Regions from separate parts of the Homo sapiens genome. Here region 2 is linked to region 1. The links are contacts of gene promoters, found by promoter capture Hi-C in blood cells and fetal thymus (Javierre and others, 2016). All regions are on one chromosome and are shown on one strand. Each heading gives the region's core, a stretch centred on a gene start or on the middle of the fragment in contact. The rest is flanking DNA. Distances are from core to core; before and after follow the strand shown. Region 1 holds the start of CCDC85C (coiled-coil domain containing 85C). Region 2 overlaps CCNK (cyclin K).

Region 1 (4,223 bases), core at 1,724-4,223:
TGCCACAACATTTGCAGCAGTCCTGTGCTAAGTGGGCTTGGGGGAGGATGGGTTCTGTGGGAAACCCTATACTTCAACCTCCCACTGACCCCCAGTGGGGTGGAAAACTCAGTGTAGCCTAGTCCTCCACTCCTGTATTATTCACTGTCGCAGCTGACATGCTGAGCCAGACTGGGGCCGCATCTCCTTGCCCAAAACTCGACAGAGCCTTTCCTGCAAGTATGCTCTAAACACTCCAGCCCTCCAGTGTCCTGCAGAGAGGCACTCTTGCCAAGTGTCATTGATGACGCAGCTGAAAACCAGAAACATTTCACTTTCCAGCCACGAGACTGCAGCAATCTGCTCTTTGGACTGCACTTAGGGAAACCGAGGCCCAGATAACTGACCCCTCAAAAGCCCCCAGGACGGCAAAATCAAAGGGGCTGAGGTGCTCTGAACAGCCCCAGCAAATTAAACCACCTAACTTTGCGCTACTCCCACTGCCCTGAAGCAGCCTGTGGTGGGAGGTGGGGGTGGATACAGTGTTACAAAGAGAAACCTGAGTTGTAGCCATAGATTGCTAATCAGTAACAAAATATCCCTCTAAACCCAGTCCTGCCTTGAACCCACAGGCTCAGGATGGTAAATAAAGGAAAAACATGCTGCACTGCCCCTGCCCCACCTCCATGGGTATGTCTCCCACCCCAGCCCCCACCCCAACACGTCTGCAGAGGCCACTTGGCCACCAAACTAAGGAGAAAACGTCCCTCCCCAGCTCAGGCTGAGGGGTTCTGGGGAGGGCAGTTATTGCAGGCTTAGACACACTTTCTCTGAATTAGGAAAGGCTTTAAAGGGAACCAGAAAGAGCTGTTCATTCTCCACCTTCAGGCAAAAAGTTCAGGCAGTTGCAACTACCAGCAGAACTGGAAGCCAAGCTACCAAAAAACGTGGAAGAACAGGGAGGCCCCGGATCCACCAGCGAGGAGGAGAAAGCTGGCAGGGAGCAGAAGGGCTGAGCAGGGGGCTGGGAGAGGGAGCAGGCTGCAAGCTCCCACAGCCCCAAGCTGGGGCCACCCTCTGCACTGGGCGCAGCAGTAACATGGGCGTAGAAGACAGAAGCTGACAGAGGCCAAAGTTCCTCCCACCCACACCCTGGTCACGGATGACCACGGCACTTCCTGTAAGGCGATCAACAGTTTATAAATCCCTTCAGAAGGTTTATCTCCACCTCAAACCCACGAGGCAGAGGTCATCATCTCCATTTCACAGACAAAGAAACTGAGGCACACAGAGGAGAAAAGCTAGAATCCGTTCCAAATACATCTCCCTCGGGAAAGTCTTAGAGTCTCGGCTGAGAAAGGTCCCAGGACTAGAAGGGCGGAATTTATGGCAAACAAGAAAGGCTCTGAGCCCCAGGCCTCTCCCCAACTGCCTCTGGGTCTCAAGCGGCTGCCTGTGCACCTTCCCAATCCCCACACCCCACTGCAGAACTCCAGCCACCGCACACACGTGGACGCTGCTTGGTTTGGAGGACACCTGTTGCTGCAAGAGGGGAAATTCACTTGCGCTCAAGGGGCCTTGTATCCTTTGCTGTTTAGAACTTCCCGCTACTAGGCAAGGATTTCCAAGGCTGGGATGAGGCGCCCACCGCCAGCCCAGCAGTGACAGACCCTAATTTTGGCAACTACACCCGCTAGAAACTTTTCTGGGACCGGACCGGCAGCAGGTTCTGAGCTGGACAAAAAGACGCTCCACCACTGAACCGGCCCACCACCGCCCAAAGCCCCACTTTGGGTGAGTGCGGGATCCCCTGGCCCAGGATCCATGACAGCTGGAGGAGTCTGGAGTGGCGGCCGCATGAGTGGGACAGCCAGGGACCACCTCCTCTCGCCGCAGCCTGGGAAAAGGGCTGCAGCCAGGGAGACCCGCGCTGCCCGGCCCGTGTAGTCCTTACCGTGCAGGCCGTTGGGGATGCTGCGGTGGTGCGGCGGCGCCGACAAGTCGTCCAGGGACCGACGTGTGGCTCCTGCCTTGCCGTCGGGGGCCTTGTGCGGCCCGGGGGGCAGCAGCGGGGGTGGGACGTGGTGGTGGTGGTCGGGGCTGCCGCCGCTGCCCGCGCTGGACGTACTGCTGCCGTCGCCCACGTCGCGGGCCCCCGCGCCGGGCGCGCCACCCGACAGCGGCCCGCTCAGGCTGGCCTGGCTGTCGATGGAGCTGCGGGAGCCGGCGCCGCCCCCGCCGCCGCCGCCACCGCTTGCGGCCCCCGTCGCCGCCAGTGCCGCGCGCTCCTCGTCCAGCAGCAGCACCAGCTCCTTGAGCTCCAGGTTCTCGCGCAGCAGGGCCTCCTGGCGCGCCTCGAGCTCGCGCAGCTTCTGCTGCGAGCGGGCCACCTCGTGCCACACGGCGCCGGCCGCGTGGCGCCCGAAGCGCTGCCACTCGCGCGCCAGCTTGCGCCCCTTCTGCCGGTCGTCGTCGAGGAAGCAGCAGAGCTCGCGCAGCTCCTGGTTGTCGTCCTGCAGCCGCTGGTTCACGTCCTTGAGGCCGCGGATCTCCAGCAGGTGCTGCTGCAGCCGCCGGTTCACGTCGCGCATCAGGCCGCCGTGCTCCAGCATGAGGCCCACCTTCTCGCCCTCGGCGCGCCGCAGCCGCCGCGCCAGCTCCTCCTTGCTCCAGCGCAGCAGCTCCTCGTCCGGCACCTGGCTCAGCTCCTCCGACGCCGCCGCCGCCGTCGCCGCGGGCTTAGCCATGGCGGGGCCGTCACCGCGGCATCGCCCTCGCCCTCGCCCGGCCGGCGCTTCCCCGCGCCGGGGCTCCGCTGGGCCGGTCCGCGCGCGGGCGGGGGGCGGCCGGGGGCGCGTGCGGCCCGCCCCGCGCCGCCTGGCGCGTCCTCTCGCCGCGCCCGCCGGGGCCGCCCGGGAGCCCGCGCGCCTCGGGGTTGACGAGCGGAGGCGGCTGCTGCGTCGGCGGCCGCGGTGCCGGGCGCTCTCAGGGTTCTGGAGAAGCAGGCGGAGGCCCGCCCCCGGCCCAGCTCCCGGAGCCCCCGCCGCCCCGCCCACCCCGGGCGGAGAGTGGGCGGGTCTCCGAGGCCCGGCCCCGCCCCCGAGGGCGACTGGGGAGCAGAGGCGCGGCCCCCGCCGTCCCCCTGCGCGGTGCGCCCGCCCGTCCAGTGCCCTCTCAGAGGCGCGTTCCGGCCGCGGTCCCGCCCTCCCGGCCGGGCGATTGGGCCGCTCCGGGGGTGTGCGGGAGGGGCGGGGCGCGCGCGGGGGAAGCTGCGGCGGTGGTACGGTCCATCCGCGGGGTTTCCGACCCCCGCCCGCGGCCGGCTCCCGGCGGTTCAAGTTTCTGCGCCCGGAGGACGCGGCCTTAGCCAATCCCAGGGCTACAGGGCGCTTTTAAAATGCAGGTACGGCTGCGGGGAGGGGGACGGTGGGAAAGGTAGGGCCGGGCTTCCCTTAAAGGCGACGCGCGAAAATAGCAGTCGAGCCCCCTCCCCGGCCCGCGTCCCCGGTCCTCTTCCCTCTCCCCAGATAAACAAATACCCACGATCCGGGCGACGGCGCCCCTTCTCCCTCCCGGGGGCACCAGAGTTCAGGGCAGTCGGAGACACAGCGAACAATAGGACTGTGACATGGGGGTCGCTCTTCCCCGCAGCAGGGCGGCTCTTTGTCCCCTTCCCTGCCCCCAGGCTCCTCCGCCCCCGTCCCCACCCGGGTCCCCTGCCGGAGCACGCGGCGGGGCTGCGTCTCCACTCCTAGCCCAGGGCTGAGCTAAACGCTGGCGTCCGCGCCCCTGCAGGGCCAGGGCCTTGCCAGCCGCGTCCCGCAGCGCGGTCAGTACTCTCTGCCCCGATGGGGCGAGAGCTCCGGGAACCTGCCCCCTGCCCGGAGCGGCGCTCGGAGCCCCGCTCCACCTCCGCTCACTCGACCGCTAAATCCCTGGGATTCGGGAGATAATCTGCAATTCGCGGGGTGGAAACCACTGGGAAGGGTGGGAAGGTCTCCCACTGGGGCCTGAACGCCGGGGTCCGGGGGCGCCGAGCCGGCCACAGAACTCCCCACCGGCGGCCTCGCGGGACCCCCGGGCTTCCCACTGCCTGTAAGTCTGTCTCGTTATCCTCCGGTCCCCAAAGCGCATTTACGGCGCGTCTACCGCCAGCAGGCGGGGCGGGGCGGGGCGGGGGGGGGTCCCTCCCCCGGAACCTGCAACGAGATCAAATCCGCGCACGCGACAGTGAGCGGCCCACG
Region 2 (4,223 bases), core at 982-3,481, 120 kb before region 1:
TTATCCCTTGACCAGTTAGCCTCCCTTGTTCTGACTCCTCTAGTGATTCCTTTTTGTTTTTACTGGCTGCAGACATTTTTCATTCTCCTTTATGCTGAAAAATATATAAAAACCAAAACAATAACAAAACCTACTCCCTACTATTCCCTGTTACTCTCTTTGAGAACAGATGCCTCAAAAGAATAACCTATTTCCAGCCAGGCACGGTGGCTTATGCCTGTAATCCCAGCTACTCAGGAGGCTGAGGCAGGAGAATCACTTGAACCCTGGAGGCGGGAGGTTGCAGTGAGCACCACTGCATTCCAGCCTGGATGACAGAGGGAGACTCTGTCTCAAAAAATTAAAAAATGAATAAAAAAGAATAACCTATTTCCTAGTCTGTTCATTCTTTACCACCCCTTGCAGTTTCTACACCTTCTGCCCTATTGCACTTCTAAAAATGTTATTTTATTTATATGTGTATATATGTATTTTCTTGAAATATAATCCTATACCGTACAAATTACCCATTTAAACTGTACAAATCAGTCGTTTTTAGTATTTGCAGAGTCATGAAACCATCACAATTTTCAGTGTCTCTAATAAACAACTAATCACCAATTAAAGTAAACTTTCCTTAGTTCCTTGTCCTTTAACTTTTCTTTAGCATTTGTCACTGTTGACTACCATCTCTGGTTTAAAGCTGACATCCCATGGTTTGTTTTGCAACAAAGGATGCAAATTTCCCTACTTCTTGGACCAGTCTTTTTCCCTTTCTCTAATTTGGTGATTCTTAGTCTGCAAGTGGGTAAATCATAAGTGCATTCAAGTCTGTTTTACCTTCCTGTCACTGGGCAAACGCTCGCCTTTGGTGATTCTTCCTACTTGGTACAAGTTCACAGAGTTCTGTACCCAGACCCCTTCCTTCTTCACTCTCCATCCCTCCATCCGTCAACATGACTTTATAGTTATCACCTCTGTGTAGATGAACCCCAAGTAGATATGTTCTGTAGAGACTTCAACTGGCCTATTTATCTGTCTGATAGATATTTCCACAAAAGGATCTTAAAGTTCTTCAAGCTTAGTATTTATAGAGCCAAATTCTTTTCCTCCCTCCTTATCAAAACCAGCTTTTTCTCTTGTCTTATCCATTTGTCTTTTTAGTATCACCCTCTGTGTCAGTCAAACTTGAAATCATCTTTTTCCATTCTTTGCCTCATGGCCAATTATGACACACACACCCCTTGTTCCAGCTGCCATTGTGTGGAGACAGGTGTATTAGGCATTACTTGAACTGCTACTATAATCTCCTAACTCTTCCTCTTTCTGCATACCTCTAAACAGCCCTTACCTCATTATGTTCTCTCCCCTTACATGCGTTATTATTTGTGGCACTTAAGATTCCCTGACAAATATTCATATATTTCTTTCTTATTGTCTCTCCCACTAGAATGTAAGCTTCCTGGGGCAAAGACCTTACTTATCTTGTGCCCTGCCATGCCATTAAGGCCTGGCTCATAGTAAATGCTCAGGAAATATTTAAATGAAAAAGTACATGGAAAACTGTTAGGCGTATGTATATTAAAGTAGCAATTCCCAACTGTGAATAAATTGCTAAGATGTGCTAAGATATTGATTCCCTCAGCCAACTGTCCAGTTGCCTTCTGTTCTATAAGAATATATGTACATGTTTAACACTTATTAATAATCAAACACCAGAAACATTTACATGCCCAAACAGTAGAATGTATAGATAAAGTGTGTTGCATTCATAGGATATAACTGTACTGTACAGCAGACTTTCTCAGCTTTGGCACTATTGACATGTTGGACCAGATAATTTCTTGTCATGGGGGATTGTTCTGTGCACTGAGGACATTCAGCAACATTCCTGGCCTCTACCCACACTAGATGCCAGTGGCAACCCCCCAGTTAGGAAAACCAGAAGTGTCTTCAGACATTGCCAAATGTCCCCTGGGGGGCAAAATTGTCCCAGGTTTAAAAACCACTGCTCTGCGGCAGTGAGAATGAACAAATACTGCTTTATGCAACAACAGGAATGAATCCCATGAACTTAATATTGAGCAGAAGAAACCAAATGTAAAAGTGGTACTGTGTCATCGCACAGTCCTTCAAAAACAGGCAAAACAAATTGATGGAAATAGAGGTCAGAATAGTTATCTTTGGGAGGATAGTCACTAGGAAAGAACGAAGAGAGCTTCTGGAATGTTGGTACTGTTCTCTTTCTCAACTGAATAGTGTTAACACAGGTGTGTTTACTTTGTGAAAAACAATCAGCCATACACTTATAATTAGTTCACTTTTCTTTTTGTATGCTATAATTCAAATCACAGTGTTGTAATTTATGAAAGCAGTACCCACACATAAGCAAGTATTCCTTGGCTATCGAGGGATTGATGAAGATAAGGAGTCCTCCTGGTCTCCTATTCAGTCTCATCTGACTTTTTCCCCAACTTTTTATTGTATGAAAGAATAGTGCAATGACAACTTATTTACCTGTGGACACATGTTCGTTTTTTGCCATGTTTACTGTGTGGTTGTGTTTTAGCTGAACCATTTGAAAGTAGGTTGCAGACATCATGACACTTTACCCAAAATACTTCAGCCTTCATCTGCTAAGAATAAAGTCATTCTCCTGTGTAATCACAATATCATTATTACCCCCAAAGAAAATTAACTGACAGTAATTCCCTCCCTAATACCCTCTAATATACAATTTATACTTAAATTTTTCCAAATTGTTTGAAATTTCTTTTTTTTAAAAAAAAAAAAAAAGCAGGATCTAATCAAGGTTCACACATTGCATTTTGTTGTAGCCCTCTTTAGCCTTTTTAAATCTAAGACAGTCTCTCAAAATGTTTTTTCATAACACTGTTTTGAAGAGACCGGGTCAGTTGTTGAGTAGAGTGTCTCACCTTCTGGATGTGACTGATAGTTTCCATGTTGTGCTTTTTTCACTTACTCTTGTACCACCAGTATTTATTGTAAACTGGAAGTTCGGTCAAAAGTTTGCTTAAATTTAGGTTAAGCTTTTGGGGGACAAGAATACTACATAGGTAGGTGATATTTATTTCACATTGCATCACATCAGAAGCCATGTAATGTCAGGTTTTCACCCTATTAGTGATGTCAAGTGTGATCATTTTGTTAAGGATCAACTGTATTTTTTTTACAGTAGTTAATATCCATGCTAGCAAAGTCGCATTTATTATCAGTAGCATTTTATTATCAGTAGTTATCAGTGCTAGCAAAGTATTATTCTCTATATGTATTAATATTATGGACACTTGGATTGTATGTTCACTATTTTATGATCAACCACAGTTATTTTTCTTTTTGCTATTCAAATTACCTTGGATTAGTCCAGTGGGCACCCATCATGGTGGCTCCTATGTCTTTTTTTTTTTTTTCCCTAGCAAATCATTCCTTCAGCAGTCCTATGTCTTTTGATAAGCTTTGATTAGTCTGAGTACATCCCAGGCAGGCTCCAACCCCAGACTGGAAAGAAACCTGCTTCCTTTTAGAGGGTATTGGTATTGAAAAAGTTAAGATTTCAGAATTAGGAGTGTCATTCCTTCTTGGTACTTGAAAAGGACAGAAATGGGATACATATATATATATTTTTTTTTAACCATGATTTATTTTGATATCTTCAGTTAAAGTTTAACATTACAGATTTGTTTCTTAACATTTGGTTTTCTGCATGTGTGCATTTGTTTTCTTTGCACTGAAAATCTTGGTTCCTAACAACATTAGCATTTACATATTTGCTTTATTCCACAACATGCAAAAAAAAATGTGTTTGAAAATTACAACATTAATGACACTACTAACAGTACACTAATGAAGTTTTAAAATTTCGTTGGGGCCAGCCACTGTGGCTCATACCCATAATCCTAGCACTTTGGGAGGCTAGGCGGGAGGATCGCTTGAGGCCAGGAGTTCGATGCTGCAGTGAACTAGGATCATGCCACTGCACTTATAGCCTGGGTGACAGAACAAGACTCTGACTCTAAAATAAGTAAGTAAGTAAATAAATAAACAAATAAATAATTCTTTTCAGTTATTTTTGTCCTTAGAATATATCTCACTAAGCATGTAACAATATCAGAAATTACTTGGAAGTAAGTTTCTGTGTGATTTTGTTGCCCATTTGGTTTGAGTTTTAGGATTTGCTTTTTTATTTTTAGTTAAGTGTATGAGTATGTTAAATATTTACATGA

Evidence for each region. The method cuts DNA at HindIII sites, captures the fragments that hold promoters and counts their contacts. A CHiCAGO score of 5 or more calls a contact.
Region 2: a contact is called between a fragment that was not itself captured here and the fragment with the promoter of CCDC85C in region 1, in 1 of 17 cell types (non-activated CD4 T cells). The highest score is 5.7, in non-activated CD4 T cells.

What each region holds. Positions count from the first base shown.
Region 1 is chr14:99,601,234-99,605,456 of GRCh38, forward strand. It overlaps CCDC85C (coiled-coil domain containing 85C), which reads right to left and starts at 2,974. Exons shown (of 6, transcript NM_001144995.2): 1 at 1,934-2,974. The coding sequence starts at 2,726. It also overlaps a transcript of HHIPL1 not described here. RefSeq lists enhancers at 1,169-1,822, 2,529-2,648 and silencers at 2,909-3,438, 3,579-3,718, 3,779-3,848, 4,029-4,178. The HindIII fragment of the contact is 18,022 bases long and covers 1-4,223 here.
Region 2 is chr14:99,485,518-99,489,740 of GRCh38, forward strand. The region is part of intron 1 of CCNK (cyclin K); the gene reads left to right. It also overlaps a transcript of SETD3 not described here. Among named protein-coding and RNA genes, the nearest start is that of CCNK, 6.2 kb to the left of the region's middle. The HindIII fragment of the contact is 1,592 bases long and covers 1,436-3,027 here.